2 separate regions of the Homo sapiens genome follow, and region 1 is linked to region 2. The links are contacts of gene promoters, found by promoter capture Hi-C in human tissues and cell types (Jung and others, 2019). All regions are on one chromosome and are shown on one strand. Each heading gives the region's core, a stretch centred on a gene start or on the middle of the fragment in contact. The rest is flanking DNA. Distances are from core to core; before and after follow the strand shown. Region 1 has its middle 9.5 kb from the start of BACH1-IT3. Region 2 holds the start of GRIK1 (glutamate ionotropic receptor kainate type subunit 1).

Region 1 (6,739 bases), core at 2,502-5,001, 450 kb after region 2:
CTAGATTCTAAGCCACTACATGCAATGAAGACTGTCTTCCTGGTCTACCTCTTTCTCTCCAGCAACCTCACTCCCAGCCCTACCCCAGACCCCTAGCCAGTTACAGTAGACACAGTGCCTATGGCCCACAGAACATTAGGAATCCACAAAAATATTTTAATTTTATTTAAGTCAGAAGAAAAATATTAATAACAATAAATATATGATAATAAATCCAGCCTGAATTGTGTTCATCTTTATATCAACATAATCATAAAATATAATATTAGCTTAGTTATTTTTATGAAAAAAGGGCGAAAGTGCCCACTCGAGGCCCAGAAAAGTCAGAATTTGGCAGATACCATCTTCTTGACAGAGGAATAGAAACTTCACGCTCTCCCTTTCTAAGGCCCTTCACTGGAGCTAATTTTTCCTCTTCAATATAATAAAATAACAATAACCAACACTTCTATAGCTTCTACAATGTGCCAGGAATGTATATATGAGCTTTATATGCATTCTTCACAAACCCCTGTGAAGAAGCTGCTACTATTGTTAGCAGCAGAAAGCATCTGAGTTGCACGGTACCAAAGCAGGTTAGCAGTGGCAGATCCACGAGGGCCTGAAGCAACCTGTTGCCTCCTCAGAAGAAAGAATTTGAATGAGGGGCAGAAGGCAGAAGGAGAGATAGAGGTAAGTTTAGAGCAGGGGAGAAAGTTTATTAAAAAGTTTGGATCAGGAACAAAAGAAAGTAAAGTACACTTGGAAGAGGGCCAAGCAGGCAACTTGAGAGATCAAATGCCCTGTTTAACCTTTGACATGGGGTTTTATAAGTTGAAATACTTGCGGGGTCTTGCATCTCTTCTCCCCTGATTCATCCCCTGGGGTGGGCTGTCTGCATGCGCGGTAGCCTGCTAGCACTTGGGAGTGACCGCAAGTGTGGTGTTTACTGGAGTTGTACACATGCTTACTTGAGGAGTTCTTCTTCCCTTACCAGCTGAATGTTCTAGAAGGAACATTCTAGGAATATTCTGCCTCTTAATGTGCATGCTTGAACCCACTTGCCCAGCTCATGAGATCTTACTGGGAAGCTGCTGATCACCAGTTTCAGGCGTTTCTATCTATCGGGAGACGGCCTTTCTTGGTGCCAGCTGTGACCAATTACTATTTTACAGAGACAGTTAACAACCACCTGACCATACCTGATAGTCACCTGACATTCCTGATGGGCACAGAGGAGCCCTCTCCTGCCTTGCTCATGCCTGACTAGCTAGCTAGCTACTGTAATATTATTAGCTCCATGTTATTTGTATTATTATTATTATTGGCTCCATTTTAGCAAGAGTATTTAATATTTCTTTGAATCACATCCCACCCACGTTAAAATACCAAGAGTCCCTTCAAGATGTGTCCCTGGTCCAATCCTCCAGAATGGCTTCCGTCATGCAGGCATGCAATCATTCACATATTCATTCCCTTAACATGCCTATCTTAAGAAAGGTGCTCTATAAGCCTCTGTAAATATGAGAAGGGAAAATTAAAGTGTCTCTGTCTACAACTTGCTAATATTCTCACCCTAAGATTGTGATTTAAAATACATCTCCTGTAGATTCAGCCATGTTATCTGTGCAGTATCTGGGACTAGGTTTTGGTTTGCTAGACTTTGGCTGGTGGTCATTAGGTGTTTGTGTGTTTGTCAGGAGAAGTGTGAGATTATGGTGCAGAAATTAACTTCACTTCTGCCAGTGCATAGAGTACAAACAGCCTTCTTCCAGAAGTATCTATGCTATTTAATAGAGTTAATAGGAGCGCACCCCAGAGGAATCATTTAAACACAACTCACTTTGTTAAACTTTTTAAATGGAACTGATATCAGCAATAATGTAAAGCATTATTTCAGCCTTTTGCACGACATAAAAACCACCTCGTCTTTTTTCACAAAATCGTTCCCTCTGTCACAAACAGCATTCAAGATTAGATCAGTTTGACTGTCAACTATTTTTACTTTTCAAGCACGGATCAACGGCACACTCTGCCTGATATCATTAAGATAATCTGAGGATAACTAGCCATACGTCGACAAAGGGAGAGATTCATTATTGTGATTCAATAAACCAAGCTGATTATTATAATTCCAACCACTTCTCCCCCACCTCACAGCTCCCTGTTACTAAAACATTCTCTCCCAGAAATAAATACATTGCCATACATCTCATTTCTTTTTTTGACTTTTTTTAAGTTTTGCCTTTGAAACCTCAACACTCTTCTTTGGGTAAATTAAGTAGTTCAATGAGTAGGTCCCTCATTATTACTTTAAATAATCAAGAGTTCCAACCTGATTTCTACAATCATTTTTATTTTGTCTCTAGTTAAATACTACTTGAATGAATGAGAGTGGTCTCTTTTTCCATAACAATGCAATTTTAAATGTTTCAATATTATTTGCAGGAAACTTTTACCTTCCCAGCTGACTGATTATCATATTTAACAAAGCCTTGCTTGTGTGAGAGTGAACAGCCCAGCAATTGCCATCATTTGCATGCACACTAAAACTAGCACTGGGAATGTGACCTTCATTTAGGCATTGAATAATGTTCTCGAAGCTTTATCCACCCTGCCTGCTAATCACCACAGCTACAACACAGTCCCGTGTTGGGCAACTGAATTGTTTTTGCAAACAAAAAGTAAATTGTCTATTAGCGCGTCCACACATTTTCTTGTCTCAGAGAACTAACATAAGCAAAGGTCATTGAAGGAAACAGACAGGGTTCCAGTTAAGTGTTATTGGTGGGTAGGGGGATAGAGTCCAGTGATAAAGAAAACTATTAACCTTGTTTTTTTCCTCTTTGTTTGTGCCTTTGTTTGGGAAATAAGGTCTATAATAAGAGATTAAAACTCCCCACCAAAAGCAAAGTAAGGGCCTACTAAATCGATTTTTATATGTTAGAAAAAAAAGGTTGATCTACATTGCTGATATGGAAAAAAATGAAGACACCCAGTTATAACGCATAAATCTGGAGCTATTATCATGAGTCCGGATGGAGTATTTCAGACAGTCTAAGGAGCTCCTAAAAGGCACAGGGAAGAGATGAAATTTCTTATAATTGAAATAAATCCTTTTGCATGATTACAAGGCAGATCTTAGGCTACTCACAAGAAATGAACCTTAAAAGGGAGGGGTTGGTAAGGGTGAGGAGATTCTAGGCCATTGAACTCAAAAAGCATGTGTCCTGTAGCAGCTGCCATTAAATAAATATTCTAGATCTACAACAGTTCTATCCCTGGTGACTATTTGCATGGTAAATGGCTAAAAGCACAGTTTTAGAATCTCTTATTTATGTAGATTAGAAGGGAAAGAATAATTCATAGTTCTTTCCTGCCCAGAGGTTTACACACTCCACTCCAAAAAGGAAAATAATATGTTGTCAGCAAATATACAACAAGGAACCACTTAAAATTCTGGTTTCATTAATCATCATATGCATTTGCTTTTCTATCCCAGTTCTTTGCAAACTTCAGTGCATACACACACATTAAAAAGATATATAAATATGTTTGTGTAGTTATTTATATAGAATATATATGTTTAGCCTGTGTGTGGCTGGTAGGCTCAACTGATTAAAGTCCTGTTCTAATGAGGCTAGGTCCGAATTTCTCTGGCTCTGCTTTCTGGCCAAGAATAGCAATCTAATTTCTGATTAGACAAGTTCTAAAGGCACACAGTGAGTCCCAAGGTGAAGCAGGCAAGAAACTGTTGGAAGAACAAGCCTTCCGCATGATGGAAAGAAAAAAGACCAAGTGACAAGACCTGCTGGAGGGAAGCTGGAAAGTCTGGACAGGTAACATTTTCATTTGCCAATATGTCTATTCAGGGCATAAAGTATAACTTAAATAACTAACCTACAGCTTTGGTCACTAAAGAAAAACCAGAAGAAAATTGCATAGACACTATCTTGAGTCATCTCCCTCTGGAATTTTAGAAGGTAGGTTGGTAGGATTTTCAGATTAGAAAGTCCACAGCTCAGGAGAATCAAAGAGGTCCAGGTGGAGAAGAAGAAAGGTGCAGGCTGGACTGTCGCTGGGCTTTACCAGACGAGGTGAGATCATAGGGTCATCATTTGTGCTTCTTCATGGTACGGTCAAGTTTACTAGAGAGGAGCACAAGACGGATCTGGGGAAGAAGTCATAGCCAGGAGCAAAGACTGTCCCTTGTATAAAATTTCTCTAGAACCCTAGAATAGCTACAGGACAAGGTGGGAGTCCAGCAGAAGAAAGGCAAAGAGAAAGTCAGGTATGTTTGGCTGGGCGCGGTGGCTCATGGTTGTAATCACAGCACTTTGGGAGGCCGAGGCAGAGGATCATGAGGTCAGGAGATCGAGACCATCCTGGCTAACACGGTGAAAGCCCGTCTCTACTAAAAATACAAAATATTAGCCGGGCGCGGTGGCGGGCACCTGTAGTCCCAGCTACTTGGAGAGGCTGAGGCAGGAGAATGGGGTGAACCTGGGAGGCGGAGCTTGCAGTGAGCCGAGATTGCGCCACTGCACTCCAGCCTGGGCGACAGAGCGAGACTCCGTCTTAAAAAAAAAAAAAAAAGGCAGCTATGTTTGGTATGACACCACTAACAACATCTCTGTAAATGTGTCAGTGGAAATGAGCCACGCCCTGGAAGTCTCTGGAGATCACAGGTGATATGGTTTGGCTGTGTCCCCACCCCAATCTCACCTGGAATTGTAGCCCCCATAATTTCCACGTGTTGTGGGAGGGACCTGGCAGGAGATAATTGAATCTTGGGAGCAGTTTCCCCCATACTTTTCTTGTGGTAGTGAACAAGCCTCACAAGATCTGATGGTTTGATAAGGGGTTTCCCCTTTCACTTGGCTCTCATTCTCTCTTGTCTGCTGCCATGGAAGACATGCCTTTCGCCTTCCACTGTGATTGTCAGACCTCCCCAGCCACGTGGAACTGTTGAGTCCATTAAACCTCTTTTTCTTTATAGGTTATCCAGTCTCGGGTATGTCTATCAGCAGCGTAAAAACGGACTAATACAACAGGGGACTGCATTATCTTCAGTGGGGTCTTCAAAGATAAAAGGCTATGAAAACCTGAGAGTTGAGTATGGCAAAAGTAGACAAACCAAAGAAGTTTTTCCAAAAGATCCACCAAATCAAGAAGAGCTTGGAGGATTTGGGGTACCCGAAGCCAAAGAAGCAGTCAGTATTCAAAGACCCAGTTGTGACTTAAGATACCATCACTAATTCCAGCAACACTCCACAAAAGTCTACTAATAAAACTGGTCTTCAGTGCTTGTAGATCCCATGGTAATTTCTAGAGACAAAAAATTCTGCCAAGCATCTTGATAGCTAAAAGGAATAGCAATATGTCATTTAGGAACTTGCTACATCCAGAATGGTCTCTTACAGTTGAAGGTCAGCTGCTAAGAGGCATAGATAATAACTGCCTCCTTGTCTTGACCAAGGAACTGGTAACATCAAATTACAAAGGCTCCTGTACAGTCTGAGCGAACACATCGAGGCCCAGAAATTTGCCTTCATGTTTGTTCAGCTTGGGTCTACACATTAGGAAAGTCATTAACAGATTGTTAGCATCTGCTGAGGAGTTCCTCAACGCCTTTCACAAGAGCAACTTCATCCGCAAGCTATACTGAGTCAATGCCAAGGTGGTAGGTTAAGTAAAACTTGAAGAGGTGATAATGATTGGTACAAAACCAGGAACTCATCAGTATGTCATCCCACCAGCCTCAACATGCAGCCACTTGTGAGCCGTGAAGAAAAGAACCAAAGAGGGGTAAGTAGTAGATAGGATTCCAACATTACAGAACAGGGCAGCAGAAGCAGCAGCATTGGAAATCTAACTCCACTTCTGATGTTAGAAGGCCTAGACATAAAATATGGGGAGTTGTTCTTCCATAATAAAAGAAAAATCCAAATAATTGAATAAGGCAACTAAGTAAAGCAATTAAATGTGATGCTTCAGGATAGACATCAAGGCCATTAATAGCAATTAATGTCTTTTGTTTGTAGTATTATGCAAGGGGCATTGTAATTTCCACATAGTAAAATGATCTATTTTTCACTTCATTAATCAGAACACATGATCATTGTGATCAAAAAAAGTGGCCTCATTCTACTTCCCGACCAAGATTTAACTGCAAGCGCTTACAGTGAGGTCTCATTTTCTCAAGACTTTATCGCAGTTAAAAGACATACTACAGCCCATTAGTCGGTAGGCTATGGATTATTATAATAAATACTTAAAACCACTTATCAAAATAAAGAGCCAAAGCACACTCTGCCATGCAGTGGGCCCCGTTTTTCAATCAGAGTCTCTCACTTGCTAATTGGAAGTACTCAGAACTCCAAATGACTTGTCTTATCGTTGGTGAGAATTAAAGAGGTTTTATACACTGGAGATATTTTAGCACTTTTCCCAACTAGGTCACCCTCATTACCTTAGCTTTGAAGCTTCTCTTACATTTTCTTTCTTATATGTCAGTTCAAGAAACGGGCTTTCAGAGACAAGTACACTGACCCTCTCAGCCAATGATCCACCAAGTGACTATTCCACACGTAGGCAGCTGTACACATAGCCACTTGCCGGGGGGAAAGAAAATCAATTCATTCCAGAAGATTATTGAAGCTATTTTATTTTGCTTATTTTTGCAATGTACCAGGCTCCTGCCTGAAAAGCAGTCTGGCTTATTTTGTGTGTTTATTTATAGGGTGTATTTATAGTATTT
Region 2 (6,827 bases), core at 1,173-3,672:
CTGTTCTAGAAACATTCAGAGCAACTCCCTTACAAAAAATTACTCAGGGATTGAGGCTGCTTTCATCTTAACCTCTAGAACTTGTGGCTTTCAGAGTTACTCTGGCAGGGAAAGAGAGTCCTGGAAGTCATGCAGGATCTTTTTTCACTGTCTTCCTTTTCTCCTGGCAGCAGTGCACTTCCACTCATATTTTATTGGCCAAAAATGGTCACATGATTCCAACTAATTGAAAAGGTAGATTCCAACTAATTGAAAAGGTACAGGCTTTCATGAGCCAGAGAAAGGGAAAACTAGATATACGTAAGCACCAGCAATGGACTACAGGCAGACATAAAAATTTAACCAAAGCTAAAAACATAGACTTGGTAAAACCAGAATTTAAACCCAGTTTGTTCAAAAGCTGACTTAATTCTAGACCTTGGGTCTTCAAACTTTAGCCACTCACTATCTGCTATGTATTGGTCTTTGATGTACCCAGAGAAAATAGATGACTAAAAATGCTTACCACAGACCTTTAGGTTTAAAAATAAACCCTCTAACAGATTTACATTCATTCTCACTTTAAGAAATACTTACTAATCCCTTTTAAACCACTGATTCTTTGAGTTTTGAAGCATCACTTCCTGAAGAACCCCTTTCCAAACTCTTAAATGGGATTACACTACTTTTTTTCTTTACTTCCATAACACCATTTTGTAAAGCTCATCATACTTTAATGCCAATGAGTTCCAGAGTGGCAGCAATCATATCCCTCTGTGTCTCCAGAGATTGGCACAATACCTCACACAACGTGGGCTCTCAAAAAATATGCATAAATAAATGAATAGTTTGACTTTGCCTCTTTTCTGAAGCAGGTCATGCTACTGTTTTTCTTAATTTTTATTTGCACAGGAAGGGTCTCGCTATGTTTCCAAGGCTGGCCTCGAACTCCTGGTTTTAGGTCATCTTCCCTCCTCAACATCACCAAAGTGCTCCAATGTAAGCCAGCACACCCAGCCTTGCCGCTGTTTGATATTCTCTGGTCTTAAAAATGCTCCCCGAATGAGACAAAATTTACTCTTCTACAATTTCCCTCTGACAATCTTATTTTTCTTAGCTCTTCTCACATATCTAACACTGAATAAGGCTACTTTCTTTTAACACAAGAATTCTTCAAATGTCTGAAGATAACCAGCATGTGCTCCTAATTCCTCTTGGTTTCCTCAATCTTTCCACGCAAAAATGCATTCCTAAATCCCTATCAGTCCCTCTTCTTATCTGCAGACATGTTCTGCTTTGTTAACTCTCATCCCAAAGTGTCCAGAACCAAGCCTACTACTTGAGATATGAACTGACTAGCTTTCCACAGTGGAGTTCTAACCTCCCTTGGAGAATGAACATGCATTTTCCCCACCATAGGGTTTTTAGTGAAAAGTATAGTGTCTGACACCACAAACAAAATACTCAGTAGGTATTTGTTGAATAATGAATGAATTAATTAATTAATACACGAATGGACTTTAAGATATATTAGATTCCTTTTGCAATTGTTTCCCACTCTAGGCTCATATAACAACTGTGGACATACTTTTCATATGGATTTGGTCAGTTCTTCAAAATCTATTTACCAGTTAAAAAAAAGAGATGTTAATATAGACCTAGCAAACATATATATAGAACATTCCCCACAAAACTCGAAGGAAATTAATCCAACATAATCAAATGCTGATTTCCCTAGGGAAGTGTCCTTGTCCTTCTACAGAGAAACAGTCTCCAAACCTACATTGCTAAAATAGCCTATCTTTCAGTATTCAGACCTGACAGTTAAAAGAAATGAAGAAAAGTAGCGGCGCTGGAGGCTGCTTCTATCTCAGTGGCATGTGTAAATGGAAGCAATTTGCAAGAGATTATCTTGGGTCCAAATAGGAATGAAGCCACTATAATCTTGGAGTACTGAAGCTTTCTCATTCCTCTCCCCCTTCCCCTGTTCATCATCCTCGTCAGAGTCAAAACAGGAGCCCCGGTATTTTCCAAAATATTGGAGGTGATTTTCCATTAAATGATGGGACGAGTCATAGCTGGCTGTCTATAAGACCCCCTAACAGGTGCACACGGACATTACCAAGAAGGCTTCCTTGCCACTCACAGCGGACAGCAGAGGCTTTCTCTGCTCGGACCAATAGTTTAGATTTGATCTGTCTTGAGAATGCAACACTCGATCGACTTCCCAGCAGCAGAGCGCAAAGTTGAGGGAGAGAAAAAAGAGCGTGTGTGTGTGTGTGTGTGTCTGTGTGTGTGTCTGTGTGTCTGTGTGTGTGTGTGCGCGCGCGCGCGCGAGTATCTTGATCAGTGGGGTTGGGGCGGGCAGTAAATAAAGGGTGGGGCCAGCGAGGGGAGGAGGAAAGCAAAGATTCAGAGAAGCCGGAACGTGGCTCCGCTCCCAGTTAACCTGCTGGAGCTCATCAGGCTTGCTCAGAGCCCCTGCACCAACTCACCCTGTACCCTCTCTCCTTCTTCGTTAGTCTTCTTTCCCCCTTTTCCCTCCTCTGTCTGTGCCTATCCCCCGACTTTTGCATCTGACCAAAGGACGAATGAGGGAGACGTTCCTGCAGATCGGGGCAGCAACTTTCCTCAGCTGGTCTCTGGGCTCCGGGAGCCAGAGAGCGCTGATCCTCCGCGGTCTGCGGCCCATGGAAGAGGAGGAGGAGGAGCCGTGATGGGCTAGCGACAGCACTGAGGAGCCCCGAGAGAGCTCAGCCTTGCCAGCCAGCTCCGCGGTCCCACGCGGGTTCCCTCGAGCTCGCTCCGTGGGGAGCGCGCAGCGTGCTTGGAACCGGAGCATCCAGAGAGGATGAGGCGGGGACCCGGCCCAAGTTGGGTGCATCTCTCGGGCGTCCGGCAGCGGCTGTATCTCGGCATGAATTAAGAAGCTAGGAAGATGGAGCACGGCACACTCCTCGCCCAGCCCGGGCTCTGGACCAGGGACACCAGCTGGGCACTCCTCTATTTCCTCTGCTATATCCTCCCTCAGACCGCCCCGCAAGTACTCAGGATCGGTGAGTGAGCCCCAGGCTGCCTGCTCGGGAGACGTGGTCGGTCGCCGCACCAACGCGGGTGTAGCGGGTCCCGGGCGAGGCAGCGCGCGGCGGCGCAGGAGCCGGAGCTGGGGAAGGTGGAGGTCAGTGCTCATGGGAGGCTACACAAAAAAGGGGGAGCCGCGTCACTGCTTCCCTCCTGGAGGGTGCCGGCCTTCCCCGGGAGGTACAGTTGGCGGGTTTTTCAATCTGGGCTCCAGGAACGCGGGCTAGAGTGCGGGGATCCAGGTTCGCAGGGACCGGCACCCCTACTCTGGGCAAGGGATCGCGAGCCGCTGCAGCCACTTGAGTTGGGCGCAGAAATGAGCTCTCCCAGCCTCCTGGGTGGGCGTCTGGCAGTCCAGATCCGCAGTCCCGGTGCCTGGCAACCTGGGCTCTGGGCACTGGCAAGTATGCACGAATCTCAAGAATACAATACAGGGACCACTAGGGATGTGGGAATATCCTAGAGCCTGTTACCCCAGAGCCTCCAAGTTTTTATGCCTAAGTTGGATTCTTCCACATGGAGTCTGCCAACTCTGACGGGTTCCACTAGATTGGGGCAGAGTTCAGATCTGACTTCGAGCTGAAGATTCGAAGAGTGAGAAGGACGGTCAGTTAGCAACATCAGCAGACACTTAAGTTTCCCACTTGCTCCCTAATTTGCCCGCTTGCCTGCCACTGAGCAAGATCCAGTTCCCAGTCCAGGTAGCTTCCTAGGAGATTCAGGGCTCTGATCTCGAATGAGATAAAAAAGACACCGGAAAGCTGAATGTGGGCAGCCCAAAGATGACAAAACGCAAGGACAGTGGAAGGGGCGTGGACTGACAGCCATAAGTGTATAGCACCCACCACCAAGGTTTGGTCTGTGGCTGCATAGGGCAATTTCTGAACTTTGAGGGTTGACACAGCTCTTCGCCTTTTAAACTAAACCCAGTTATTGTTCGCTGAATCTCATTTGCCCTCCTCCTTTCCCAACCCATCGGGCTTCTTAGAGTCACGGTCACAGAGGGAGCCACAGGAGAAGCTGTGACATCACATGGGTCTCTTAGTTTCTCCCATCTTCCACTTTCAACCGCAAGAGTGAAGCCCTGATCTCTGAGGACTTCTAACTCCCCCTTTCCAGGAACTAACAGAATATGCCAGGAGCAGTGCCAGACACTGGCATAGTGACGCTTCCTGAGCAGTTGAAATTGCTCAGTTACTATACTAGCTCTGACCTACAATTAGTCAGCCCCTTTACAAAAATTCAGAACATACTAGGTTTTATTTTTTAATCACTGAACATGCCCACTAAAAGAAAAATAGAAATGTGCTACTTTGAGCTGCAGATATCAAATACTAACTTTTACTACACACATGTTTTTTCTAGACTATGGGTAATTTTAATGTGCATTGTATTGGATAGAGTCTTTTCTAAAATAGTTTCAAAGTATTTATTTTTTTAAAAAAAAACTTACTACTATACATAACTGAAATATCCTTTATCTGAGATAAGTTCTAGGTTTAACATCCTGGGTTTTTGGGAATGCAATCAACTCTACTCACCCTGGTCAAAAAAAAAAAATATTCTGAACAATACAAAGTAACTAATGAGCGTGTGTGTTATAATTTCCAATACTTATTAACTTAATTGGGGTTTTGCTTGTGTCTTTTACCTTTTGAAAGAGACAAATCTAGGGATGCTAGAAATGGCTGTGCTAGCCAATGTTCCTCATCCCTGTATAACAAATATAAGGTAGCATTTTCCTTTCCTATATCCCCCACATCTAAAGGAACTCAGGAGGAGAAGGGAAAAGGATGCTTTAAGACATATTTGTTCACAGATCTCAGTATTTTTCTAAGCTCCAAGCAATCACAATCATCTACGTAAAAGTAGTTTTCAAGGTGAAAACAAACAACATGATTCACTGACCTTACAAATATATGCAACAAGATAATGAGGTTTTCTTTTTTCTAAATGGGAGCCAAAATGCATAAAATAAAATGGCATGGCATGGCCTGGTGTTGTTTATGTGCAGTACAAATGTGTTACTCCTTCTGGCCTGGAGTGTCCTGTGGCTGACATGAGCACTGTTGCCCCGTATGCACCTAAGGACCAATGCACGCTTTTAAATGAGCAGTTTAGCACACTGTGGAAACCAGCTTTACCTCAGAGGAAACCTGTTTCTCTACAGTGACTTTCTTGTGTCAGTCAAGTGCAATATTGAATACAAAAAATTAACAAAAAGGGGTTGGGGACTAAGCCAAAGTTTATGTGTGTGTGTATGAGTGTGTGTAAGGAAAAAGAAAGGGGAGTTGTATTCTTTATTATATCCTGTCCCATTCTTCTTTCCAACAAACCATCACCCATCCAAGCAACCGACCGATCAACTAAACAATCAACCAACCAATAAAAAGGGTCTCTAGATTATTAACTGGCATGTTTTTTAGTGACTTAAAATATTCAAAGTAAAGTATAGCAAAATCGCTAGGCACTTAGTACTGGGTCCTCATATAGAGAAGGCACTCAAATGCTTGAATGAATTAATTACTGGTCTACTTTTCTTGTCAAAGTGTCTGCTTAAGCTTCAGCTTTGGAGAAAAGGATAAAAGCTAAGATAAAATTCATGCATACTGAATATTTGAGAGGGTATTGAGTTCACATAGACACGTGATTTGAGCATACACTGTGAATGTCTGTTGGAAAGTTTATAATCTTATGCAACAGTTAAGAGACAGAGAAGGTCGGTAGGATAGTGGTGCCCTTAACATTATTACTGCACTCAAGAAGTTTCCCAGCAGCTTGCATAGAAGAGAAATATAGCTGGTTGCTGGGAATTGTGTGGAGCTGCTGGAGTCATTCCTGCCTCTCTGTATACACCAGTGTATATCAACAACCAGTTAGTTGACATATGTAATTAGTTGGTCTGTGAGCTTCACAATCACAAATATCTTCCTTAATTGGGTGGCTGACTTATAACTAATGGTTAGAACAGGATCTAGGTAAACTTAGTAGACGTGGCCCACCACCATTAATTAAAAAAATATTCCAAGTGCATATGCAATTTTAGGACAGATGTGTAATATTTATAATAAGGATTGCAGAAAGACAGATAATATATTTGTGTGCATCATCTCAACACATACAATTATAGAGGTCATGGTGAAAATAGGATTAAGAATTGAGCAGTGGGCAGCCAGGCTTTCCGAAGCATGTTTTGGTGTCAGAAAGCATAGGTTTGATTCCCACGTCCGTGATTTACTAGATACATCAATGAGTGAGTGAGGGTTATTTAGTCTTACCAGGCCATTGCTGTTGCATCTGATAAATTGAATTAAAACTATTGCAAACCTCACAGTGTCATTGGTAAGAGCTCAATATGAAAGGGCTTTGAGTAATATCTGGATACATTTGTTTTATTATTATTATTGTTATGTTGTTTTTACTACTTTTTTTATTATTTACATTTTCTTCCTAAACAGGGTCTTAACAGTTGATTGGTGTATCTTTATAAGACCTTTAATATCTTTAAGCCTAAATCTCTTCATCTGTGAACTAGCAGTAATCATATCAGCCTTTCCTGTTTCACAAGGGAAGATGAAATACACTAATTTCTGTAATTTGCCAAAAAACCACCAAATAAATATGGTACTATTATGTAGTTAAGTACATCACATAAATAGAAATATTATGGAGATTTATATGAATAGTGTGGAAATCTATAGTGACAATATCATTGTTCACATGCTTTTATTTCCTTGAGAGAGGTCCAAATTTATTTTATGCCAATC

What was found. The method cuts DNA at HindIII sites, captures the fragments that hold promoters and counts their contacts. A contact is called where the count stands out against the background at its distance.
Region 1: a contact is called between a fragment that was not itself captured here and the fragment with the promoter of GRIK1 in region 2, in 2 of the 25 tissues and cell types used here (H1 embryonic stem cells and dorsolateral prefrontal cortex).

Annotation. Positions count from the first base shown.
Region 1 is chr21:29,483,172-29,489,910 of GRCh38, reverse strand. No RefSeq gene overlaps it. Among named protein-coding and RNA genes, the nearest start is that of BACH1-IT3, 9.5 kb to the left of the region's middle. The HindIII fragment of the contact is 6,526 bases long and covers 489-6,739 here.
Region 2 is chr21:29,935,591-29,942,417 of GRCh38, reverse strand. GRIK1 (glutamate ionotropic receptor kainate type subunit 1) reads left to right here and starts at 2,422. Exons shown (of 18, transcript NM_001330994.2): 1 at 2,422-3,035. The coding sequence starts at 2,918. RefSeq lists an enhancer at 2,635-3,136. The HindIII fragment of the contact is 7,699 bases long and covers 928-6,827 here.